Linked DNA regions of Homo sapiens: region 2 is linked to region 1. The links are contacts of gene promoters, found by promoter capture Hi-C in human tissues and cell types (Jung and others, 2019). All regions are on one chromosome and are shown on one strand. The core of a region is centred on a gene start or on the middle of the fragment in contact, and the rest is flanking DNA. Distances in the headings are between cores, read along the strand shown. Region 1 holds the start of GREB1L (GREB1 like retinoic acid receptor coactivator). Region 2 overlaps GREB1L (GREB1 like retinoic acid receptor coactivator).

Evidence for each region. The method cuts DNA at HindIII sites, captures the fragments that hold promoters and counts their contacts. A contact is called where the count stands out against the background at its distance.
Region 2: a fragment that was not itself captured here is called in contact with the fragment with the promoter of GREB1L in region 1 in 1 of the 25 tissues and cell types used here (dorsolateral prefrontal cortex).

Annotation. Positions count from the first base shown.
Region 1 is chr18:21,239,419-21,245,059 of GRCh38, reverse strand. GREB1L (GREB1 like retinoic acid receptor coactivator) reads right to left here and starts at 2,828. Exons shown (of 33, transcript NM_001142966.3): 1 at 2,667-2,828. GREB1L-DT (GREB1L divergent transcript) reads left to right here and starts at 2,332. Exons shown (of 3, transcript NR_183513.1): 1 at 2,332-2,450; 2 at 3,725-3,783; 3 at 4,053-4,385. The HindIII fragment of the contact is 24,686 bases long and covers 1-5,641 here.
Region 2 is chr18:21,474,468-21,480,108 of GRCh38, reverse strand. GREB1L (GREB1 like retinoic acid receptor coactivator) reads right to left here. Exons shown (of 33, transcript NM_001142966.3): 17 at 2,753-2,945. Among named protein-coding and RNA genes, the nearest start is that of GREB1L-AS1, 26 kb to the right of the region's middle. The HindIII fragment of the contact is 6,289 bases long and covers 1-5,641 here.

The sequences.
Region 1 (5,641 bases), core at 1,579-4,078:
AAATTAGAAGTTTCCTAATAAGAACATACTCCCTAGGTGAATATTTATCAAGTAACTAAAATATCTTAGCTATAAGGGATGTTCATAATCTAAACACTTCAGAGAAGTATAAATTAAATTATGTCAAGTCTCTTTCAAGTAGGTAAAGTTAATTTCCACTTTACCAAAAAGAAGAGTTTGGTAAGAGTAATTTTCCTAAAAATGACACTGTGGGCTGCGAGGAGAATTCACTCTCCTTAGCCACACAAGGTGACATGAGAGGCCCTCAGCCCGGTGTTTGGCCTCTATCAGCAACATAAACACACATTCTGTGGGTAAGGAGAGTAGCTGTTCTCCAATGACATCAAACTCGTAAGAGCAGGGATATAGTTTAAACATCTCTAACCTCCTCTTCATGAATCCACCATTCAGGAATGTTTTTTGTCGCCCCACTGTCTAACATCCACAGTCCAATGGTTATCTTTAGCCAGTTTTAGGACAACTATTTTAATCGTAGAACTCTGGAGTTCGAAGGACCCTTAAAAATCACATAGTTCAATTCCTTTATCTAACTGAGTGGGAAACAAAGTTTTCCAAAAAAAAGTTACGTCGTGTGGCGGGTTTGTGGCAAATCCAGGCCTAGAATTAAGAGATGCAACCAAACATCTGAAACTCGGCCTTCGTATTTATCCTTTACCACTAACATCTTTATATTATGTCATGTCAATGGGAGTATACACACGCCCTTTCAGTGTTTTCAGATACACACTGCGGTAGACAAAGTAAACTACTACAGTTCTCATTCTCTACTTCATAAAGAATTCCAAAATGGAGGAAAAATTCAATAAAGATTGCAAAAACCAGTGTAGGGAAACTGGTGTGTGTGCAGGAGGAGATATTAGTTTAATAGTTTTGCTTTCCACTGCATACTGTTCTAAGATTTTTAGCCCTCTAACTGATCTTCAAGGTAATAATTGTCCACATTTGGCTAAATAATCTCATGTCATCATGAGTGGGTATCAAGTTAATGGTCATCACCACGAATATATAGTTCAGTCTTATATTCAATCCCTTTCATCATCTATAATGTAATTCCATTTTAATAGACTTACGGAAAGATATACAAAAAATATACAACAGTGGCTGCCTCTGAGAAGGATGAAGGCTTGTATGGAGGAGAGGAAAGAGGGCTTAATTTACACTGTATACTCTTCACTGTTGTTTGAAATGTTTACCCTACTTATATATTCATTCATTAAACATTTTCCTCTTGAAATACATACCTATATGCATGTAACTGTATTACTAAATATTTCAACAATTTAATTTTTTCTCTTTTAAATAATTTTTCAGTATCATTCACAAAACCTCCTAGAAAATTTCAGCAAAGAGAAGAAACAACACAGTCACAACACTCAAAGCAGAGTTCCAGGATTTAAAGTCTAAGAACATATATAGATGAATGAGAGGTTTTATTAAGGGGGACTGAGTTCAAAAACCTTTTGTGGGAAAGCTCTTCCCTGTATTTAAACGGCTAGGTTTAAAAATGTGATTTAAGCAGGGATTCCCGCCTCGAGGCGGGGGGAGGCGGAAAAAAACACCTTACGGTGTGAAAAGCAGAAATTAAAATGTGGTTTCTATCCTCTCAGCCGGGGCCAGAGGAGTGGGTGGGGAGGATAAGGACCTTGGAACCGTCACGTTCACCGGAGAAAGGGGCAAGACTGAGGAGTTTCTCCAGGACCCGCAGCCTCGGTTAGAGGCAGCGGCAGTTCCGGGCAAACGAGTCGCGTTCGGGGACGTTCCTTGGACTCATGTAACTGAGAAACCCCACGCACTGAATCTCCACATGGAGTTTCCTCTTAATGGAGCTGGGAAGAGGGACGGCGGGAATGGATTTCCTTTAACGAGTCTCCCTCACCCTCCCCGGCCAGGGCGCACCTCACTCGCTGTCTGCTTGTGTCAGGGTCAGCTGTCAACACAACTCTTTGTGTCTCATTCGGAATAAGAGTGGTCCTCAGCCATGCACAGAAAAATGGACATGCTGGCCGGAAGACACGCGCGCCCGCTCGTGACGAAGTGACATTTGGTGTTGAGGAAAAAAACCCACAGACGCCGAGCGAGCGCCCAGCCACCTCTGGACGTTCTCAACTTTCCCAGGCTGAACTCCATCCATCCTCTCCCCGCCACCTCCGCGGCGCCCTACCTGTCGCCCGCCCGCCTGCCCGGCACCCCCTCACTGCCCCTGGGCTCGGGGAGACGAACCAGGTGCCCCCTCGCCGCCTCCGCCGGGGGACCCCGCGCTACTCGGCGCGCCGCAGCTCCCTCGTCCCACCCCCGGGCCGTCTCGCTCCCGCCACAAAGGCAGCGAGTAGAGCCCGGTGACAGGCCTTCGGCCTCTGGGCGCGGACAGCACGGCCGGGTCCCTTCGGTGGGCGACGCGAGGCGGCAGGGAAGGCAGGCACGGCTCCCAGGTTGGCACTGGCGCTCCCTCGCCACCCGCACGCGCTCCGCTCACACCCCCGCTGAGCTTCCCATCCCTCCGGAAAAGTCCGCTGCGGCGCTTCCCCGCGCGGCCAGGGCGTCCAGCCCGCCAAAGGGCAGCTCCTGCCGGTCACAGGCGAGCTCCCGCGCCCGGTTCGCGACCTCTCACCTCCTGCCCGCGCCCCGGAGTCCCCGCGGCCGCTCACCTGGCCCTAGCGGGGCGCGAGGGCAGAGGACCAGGGGGTGGCCCTCGGCTCGGCCGGGCTGGTCTCCCCACCCCCAGTGCCGTTCCCTGCGCCGCGCTGCGCTCCGCTGCTCCGGCCGCCCGACTCCGAGGTGCTAGCGCCGCCGGCGGCTGGCGTCTCTCTGGCAGGCGCGCGGTCCGCGCGCTCAGTTCCCCGGGGCGGAGCGAGGCGGCGGCCGCCGCAGCCGGAGGCGGATTCCTCAGGTGCTGCCCCTCCCGCCCGCCCTGGCCTCCGCAGCGGGGACCCCCGCGCCCCCTCCCCCCGCCCCGCCTCGCGCCTTCCCGCTGCCTCGGCGTCCGCGAGTGGCTTTTGGGGGTCCCTCGCCCTCTGTGAGGGTGGTGGGCGCGCATTTCTCCCCTACCCCCCTCCAACGACGCCCCCCGCCCAGCCTGTGGAGCCCTCGATGCGCGGTCCTCACGCCTCCATTCCCAAACCCCGCCGCACAGACGAACGCGCAGCCCCGCGGGGGTGTACAGGGGGTCGTGCGGGGGGGGGGTCTTCTGTGAGGGAGGGCTGCACCCCAGTGTGCTGACGCGCGAAGCCAGGAGGAAAAATTATTTCCCCTGGAGCCCGCGTTCATTCAGCCTGCTCTCGCCTCTGCGCAATTGCTTTCTCTGTTCACTGGACGGCGGCTGAAGAGCCCCAAGCGTGAACTCGGCCTGGGCAGTGGTGGCTCGGAAACCCTTGGCCTTTTGCATGAAGGGGGTAGGGTGGGGGCAGGGCGCGGACAAAACCAAACAAACCCGGGAGCTCCGGGCCCAAGCCGACTTTTGCACCTCCCGGAGGAGCACGCCCTCCGGCCCCGGGCCCCGGCTCGTCGGTAGCCTCCCGGGACCACGGGGACGGCTCCACCCCAGGGCAGCCGCGTCCAGCTGGCCCTGGGCCTTGACGGGTGCTGCGGGGAAAAGGTTCTTGAGAGATGCTGCGGCCCGGTAGAGAGATTTAGCTCCACTTTTCACAGCTGGAGGCTTTTGTTATTAGAGATGCGGCTCCATTTTTAAAACTAATTGTTGCCACAGATAGGCGACTACATCTCTGGAAGCAGCAGCTCCATGCTGGATGTGGTGGAAGAATCGAGGTAAGGAAAGGCTGATGTATTTTGAGTGCCTTTAGTGCAGTACAGCCCGGGGGAGCTCCCCGTGTGCGTGGGAGTGGGGAGGCAGCCGCGGCGCCCAGGCCCGGGTGGGTTGGAATCATTGTCAAGTGATAGGTACCATTTAAAGACATTGTCAATTAAACTAGTTCTCATACGATGTCCCAGTACTTTTGTTTGCTTGTCTTGCATTTTTCTTTTTTGCCATATCCGAAATACATTTTTTTCTTTCCTGTCACTTTTGATCCATGCAGAGGGAATGGACTGGAAGTTTGGAATCACCGGAAAATAACAAGGCATAGCTAAGCTGTGACTAGCAAGATAAACGATTTGTTCGAGGTTTGATTGTCCTTTCCCTCCTCCACTCGGAAGACATAGTTGTCTTTTTTTAAATCATGTTTTGTACCGAAATATTTTTATTTTATAATTGAATCCCTGTTGTTGGGCCTTTAAAAACCCATAGAAACATTGTTATGTGCCACGAAGGTGGGAAACACGGCTTTCTCAGTCATTGCTGTACTCCCACAATTCTGGGTCATGCACACAATACAGGTTTAGTAAATAAAATCCGTATGTTTTTGGCCCCACGCGGTGGCTCATGTCTGTAGTCCCAGCGCTTTTAGCCTGGGTGACAGAGACCCTGACTCAAGAGTGTGTGTGTGTGTGTGTGTGTGTGTGTGTGTGCGCGCGCGCGCGCGGGCGGGCTTTAAAATAACTACAACAGAAAGGTGCAGATGATTAGCAATAGCTAAAAGAATCCAAAGTCACTTAGTAAACTCATCATGAGAACTGGCCATACACGTGGAAAAGACAGTGCTGTAGAAACTGAAATTTTAAGTTCACCTGGTGAATATAAACTAAGCTCATAGAAGTTAAAGCAGGTGAGAATCTTTTGAAAAACTCAACCCATCACAAGGTCTGTAGAGTGTGTGGGGGTTGGGCAGAAGCAAAACACCTTCCAATTTAAAGATAAGGACACTGAACAAGGAGCCGCTTTAAAGTAAAACCACCAGTGCAGTTTTCTCTCTTAGTGCAAGGACCATTTGTTGAGTGCCAGGTACACTAGACCCTAGAAATGTGAAAGCAAATCTGGCAGTCACTCAAGGACCATAGTCTAATATTACAGGACTCTGGTATTCATTCTTCATCCATTCAACAGATATTGAGCACCTAATGTGAGTTAGACGGCACAATATATCAGTAGTAGTGGTGATTTGTCAGTAAACAAGGCAAGTCCCTAACAAGGGTAAAAGTGAGAGTAATCTATATATCCTGGTAGATTGAAAAGAGTTCAATGCCATCTTCATTAGATAACAAACTCCCAGCCGGGTACAGTGTCTCACGCCTGTAATCCCAGCCCTTTGGAGGCCAAGGCAGGTGGAACACTTGAGGTCAGGAGTTCGAGACCAGCCTGACCAACATGGTGAAACCCCATCTCTACTAAAAATGCAAAATTAGCTAGGTGTTGGTGGCACACACCTGTATTCTCAGCTACTTGGGAGGCTGAGGCAGGAGAATCGCTTGAATCCTGGAGGCGGAGGTTGGAGTGAGCCAAATTGCGCCATTGCACCCCCAGCCTGGGCAACAAGAACAAAATTCCGACTCAAAAAAAAAAAAAAAGATTTCACACTCCTGTGTCCTGAATTTGTGTTTCTGCCTTGTCTTCCCTTTGGGATTTCTATGTCCCTCAGCATGCCCAGTAGACCTCCATAATTATAAAAGATGATAGGGTTCAGAGTGAACATTCTGAAAAAAGGTCCCATAGTTTTGAATCCTGACTCCAGCCTGGTGACAGAGTGAGACTATGTCTCAAAAAGAAAAAAAAAAAAAGAAGATGCATTAG
Region 2 (5,641 bases), core at 1,722-4,221, 230 kb before region 1:
AGAGTGCTGAGTTTACAGGCGTGAGCCACCGCGCCTAGCCAAAAACCCTTTTCAGAAACATAACCACAGGCTGGGTACAGTGGCTCATGCCTGTAATCCTGATACTTTGGGAGGTCAAGATGGGAGGACTGCTTGAGGCCAAGAGTTTGAGACCAGCCTGGGTGATACAGTGAGATACTGTCTCTACAGAATATTTTTAAAATTAGTCAGGCATTGTGGTATGTGCATGTAGCTCTGCTACTTGGGAGGGTGAGGTGGGAGGATTGTTTGAGCCCAGGAGTTTGAGGCTGCAGTGAGCCATGATTGCACCACTGCACTCCAGCATGGGCGTCAGACCCTGACTCAAAAAAACGTAAAAATAAATAACTGTAATACCATTATTAAACCTTAAAAATTAATCACTTCCTTAAAATGATTTTTTTTTTTTTTTGAGACAGGGTCTTGCTATGTCTCTCAAGCTGGAATGTAGTGGCATAATCTCAGCTCACTGCAGCCTTGACCTACTGGGTTCAAGCAGTCTTCCCACTTCAGCCTCCTGAGTAGCTGGGACTATAGACACATGCCACCGTGCCTGGCTAACTTTTATACTTCTTGTAGAGATGGGGTTTCACCATGTTGCCCAGGCTGGTCTTGAACTCCTGGGCTCAAGTGATCCACCCACCTCGGCCTCCCTAAGTGCTGGGATTACAGGTGTGAGCCACTGTGCCTGGCTAAAATGACTTTTAAGGAAAATTATTTTAAGCCTGTTTCTCTATTTCATGGTAGGAGAAAATAAAGGGCAGAGGCTATTGGTCCTTCTTCCTATCACTGGGGTGTGATCCCTTTCGGAAAAGACTGAATTAGGACAGTTGTCTCTACACTCCAATATATCGAAATTTAATGCAAAATAAGAGAACTATCTGGGGGATTAAAAAATTAATTAGTCTTGGCTGGGCATGGTGGCTCACACCTGTAATTCCAGGACTTTGAGAGGCCGAGGTGAGTGGATCAACTGAGGTTGCGAGTTCGAGACCAGCCTGGCCAACATGGTGAAATTTGGTCTCTATTAAAAAAACAAAAATTAACCAGGCAAGGTGGCGAGCACCTGTAATCTCAGCTACTCTGGAGGCTGAGGCAGGAGAACTGCTTGAACCTGGGAGGTGGAGGTTGCAGTGAGCTGACTTCGCACCACTGCACTCCAGCCTGGGTGACAGAGCGAGACTCTGCCTCAAAAAAATAATTAATTAGAAAAATAATTATTCTTTCCATTCATTCTCTTGGCAATCCATTCTTTGTCAGAGCAACCCAGCAGCTACTTGGGTAGCCCACAGGCTCCCCTTGTAGTTTGGAGGCAAAGGAACTCTGGCAGCTCTGTTATCTCACCCCTACCTCAACTGCCCAATGAATGGCTGGAGCTGGCATGGAGAAGATACCAAGAAAGCAAAAGCTCAAAGTAATCTCTAGTGATAGAACACACTGAGTTAGTTCTCATAAGGCAGTGACTGCTGAAGACAAGATTCAAGGACCTGAGCTTCCTGCTTGCAAGGAACAAACCAATGCTTGAAGACAAGAGCGCCAAGTCAGAGAACTTACCTACTTCATGACAGAATAAAATGCACTGGGTTGAAAAATAAATGTTAGTTTTATGTAAGACATTTTTGGTGTTTTTTACTTAAACATGTTTATTTTAAAATATCCAGTGTGTTCAATATTTTTAAATGAGGGATCCATTGCTTAATGGCTAATTTTTATTATTTTTATGAAACTCACATTTCTTTTCTTTGATAGTATATTTAGCATACAGTTTCAGGTCATAGAAAATATTTTTCAATATTAGAGATTGGAGTAAAAACTATAAATCCCTGGATATATCCAATGTTGAGATGGGTAGTCTCAACACATTCACTGCTACTATGGAGTTATCTAAAGTAACAGTGCCATCATCCCATTTCATACAGAAGACTGTGAAAACTGATTTAAAACAAAAACCCAGTTGCTGGAGGAGCAAGAGAGTAATTAACAGTGATGCAGATCATCAGACTAAAACATGACAAAAAGGCCATCCAAGAGGACAATAAAATGTCCAGGTCTCAGGGTGAAATTAATCATATGAAGGCACAAAGGAAATCCAGGATATTGATGATGGCCTCAGATAACATCAACATTTTCTTTTTGAAAAATTATATACGACAGATAATTTTGTATCTGCATGATACCTAAGAACCACCTAATCAAATTTATATAGGATATTATTCACAAGCCTTTAGTCTTATAATAATTGTTAAAATATATGGAACTTTTGGAAGATACAGAATTATGTTAGTTTTTTGTTTTTTTTTTTTTTGAGACGGAGTCTCGCTCTGTCCCCCAGGCTGGAGTGCAGTGGCACAATCTCCGCTCACTGCAACCTCCGCCTCCCGGGTTTAAGTGATTCTCCTGCCTCAGCCTCCTGAATAGCTGGGATTACAGGCGTGTGCCAGCACACCCGGCTAATTTTTTGTATTTTTAGTAGAGACGGGGTTTCACCGTGTTAGCCAGGATGGTCTCGATCTCCTGACCTTGTGATCCACCCGCCTCGGCCTCCCAAAGTGCTGGAATTATAGGTGTGAGCCACCGCACCCAGCCAGATTTTTGAACTCTTACATAAAGCATTACGTTAGATTTTGAATTCTTATGAATATGGTCTTAAGCCATGACACATTTTGTTACAAGGTCCTACCCTCTTGGGAACTGAGAACATGACAGTGTATCAGACAGCAGGCAAGAGACTCACCCCAGTATCCAGCTGTATCCAGTGAACCTCATTGCTAGAGCTAATGCGGGACTGTTGGGTCTGCAGAGTGTATGGGAAGGAGCTGACCTGGAGCACCAGGAGGTTGAAAGCTTCCAGAACTTCTCTGCAATTAATGACTCTATCAGCTAGCCCATGACTGGGTTCGCTATGTGACAAAGAGCCTGAAATGACACTGTAGAAAAATTGAAAGTCATATTAATACCTCATTTAACCAAGTAGATATAGAATCAGACACTAACATGGACATACTGTTTTAGTTTTTATTTTTCTATCTCTTTTCAATTGGGAGCAGAGAAGAAACAACTAAAATTTGACACGGAAAGGAAAAAAAATTTACATTCCTTCTTTTCAGACAGATTTCAGGAATATGTATTTTTTTTCCTTTTCACTTTATTCCCAATATACCTCAAAGTGCAAACTCAGTCATTTAGGCCAGTGATATCTAAATCTGCAGTTGGGCCAGGCATGGTGGCTCACGTCTGTAATCCCAGCACTTTGGGAGGCCAAGGCAGATGGACCACCTGAGGTCAGGAGTTCAAGACCAGCCTGGCCAACATGGTGAAACCCCGTCTCTATTAAAAAAAAAAAATACAAAAAAAATTAGCTGGGTGTGGCGGTGTGTGCCTGTAATCCTAGCTACTCGGGAGGCTAAGGCAGGAGAATTGCTTGAACCAGGAGGAGGAGGTGGCGGTGAGCAGAAATCACGCCACTGTGCTCCAGCCTGGGCAACACAGCTAGACTGTTTAAAAAAAAAACAAAACCCCAAAACAACAACAACAAAAAATTAAATTCAGAGAAGTCCCAACATGTATCCTCAGAAATATCACCCAAAACTTTCAAAGATGAGGTGTACAGGGTCAATGAGCTATTCCTGCTCATAGAAGACTACCAAGACCTAAACAGATGTGGGCAAAATTTCTTTTCCCGCTCTCTCTCTCTCTCCCTCCCTTCCTTTCTTCAAAATCTAACAAGTTCTACAAGATCTTATTTATACCTATGTATGGCTCTAGGTTTCAGATTGTGGAGTATTATCAAACACTTTCTGGCTTCTGAAAAAGAGCTTTGCAATTCTGACATTTCCCTACCACAAACCAAAAACTTCCAGATTCCTAACCTCAGCATCTCCTGGAGAAAAGAACATCTACAAATGCTTGATGATGTCTGAAATTTCTCTCCCCACTACATGGTGAGGACAAACCATGATATGTAATACACGATGACTATTTGCCACCCCCGACCCCTGCTGATTTGCTTTTTGATCCATAGGAGCAAAGATGCCCCCTACCAGATAATTACTAGAATTTGATCTGGGAGCAAATATGGATCCATATTTGACTCTTTTTTTTTTTTTTTTTTTTTTTTTTTGAGACGGAGTCTCTCTCTGTGTCACCCAGGCTGGAGTGCAGTGGCATAATCTCCGCTCACTGCAACCTCTGCCTCCTGGGTTCAAGTGATTCTCCTGCTTCAGCCTCCCTAGTAGCTGGGATTACAGGCATGTGCCACCACGCCCAGCTAATTTTTTTGTATTTTTGGTAGAGATGGGGTTTCACCATGTTGGCCAGGCTGGTCTTGAACTCTTGTCCCCAAGTAATCCACCCACCTTGGCTTCTCAAAGTGCTGGGATTATAGGTGTGAGCCACCGCACCCTGCCAACTTTTCTTTCATTAATAAGTTCATCCAGGCCAGGCATGGTGGCTCACGCCTGTAATCCCAGCACTTTGGGAGTCCAAGGTGGGTGGATCACGAGGTCAGGAGTTCAAGGCTGGCCTGGCCAAGATGTTGAAACCCCATCTCTACTAAAAATACAAAAATTAGCCAGACGTGTGGCGGGCGTCTGTAATCCCAGCTACTCAGGAGGCTGAGGCACAGAATTGCTTGAACCCGGAAGGCGGGGGTTGCAGTGAGCCGAGATCGCATCACTGCACTCCAGCCTGGGTGACAGAGTGAGACTCTATCTCAAAAATAATAATAAGTTCATCCAGTAAATATGATACTCTCTTGTTTAAACTGGGAAACTGGGGAAGCTTTCAGGTCATCAAAGTGGCATCTCTACTGCTTTTAAAGGCAAGAGGGGAGAAGGGCAAGGAAGAGGAGAAATAGTGAGAGAGGAAGGAAAAGAAGCAAGGCCAAATGGAAAAGTGGGGTGGAGGCAGAGAGGGAAGCACATCTCCCTTCCAGGAGCTCATTCATCTTAACCTCCTTATTGCTGTCCTTTCTCTAATGAAGCTGAGTTCCACAAAGCTCTTAAAACAAAATTTTTTCAGGAATCTCTAAATTCATCCAGAGTGCAGTGATATGGTTTGGCTCTGTTTCCCCACCCAAATCTTATCTTGTAGCTCCCATAATTCCCATGTGTTGTGGGAGGGACCCGGTGGGAGATGATTGAATTATGGGGATGGGTCTTTCCCATGCTGGTCTTGTGATAAAGAAAGTCTCATGAGATCTGATAGTATCATAAGGGGGAGTTTCTGGCTGGAGAAATTTGCATAAGTAACAAGGAGCGGAATCTTAATCCCCAAGACAATGGGGGAAAATGTCTCCAGGGCATGTCAGAGGTCTTCATGGCAGCCCCTCCCATCCACAGACCTAGAGGCCTAGGAGGAAAAAGTATTTTTGTGGGCCAGGAGGGAAAAGTGGCTTTTTGGGGTGGGCCCTGTGCTGTGTGCAGCCTAGGGACTTGGAGCCCCACATCCTAGCTGCTCCAGCCATGACTAAAGGGGCCAATGTACAGCTTGGGCTGTTGCTTCAGAGGGTGGAAGCAGCTTCCACATGGTGTTGAGCCTGTGGGTACACAGAAGTCAACAACTGAGGTTTGGGAGCCTCTGCCTAGATTTCAGATGTATGGAAATGCCTGTATGCCCAGGCAAA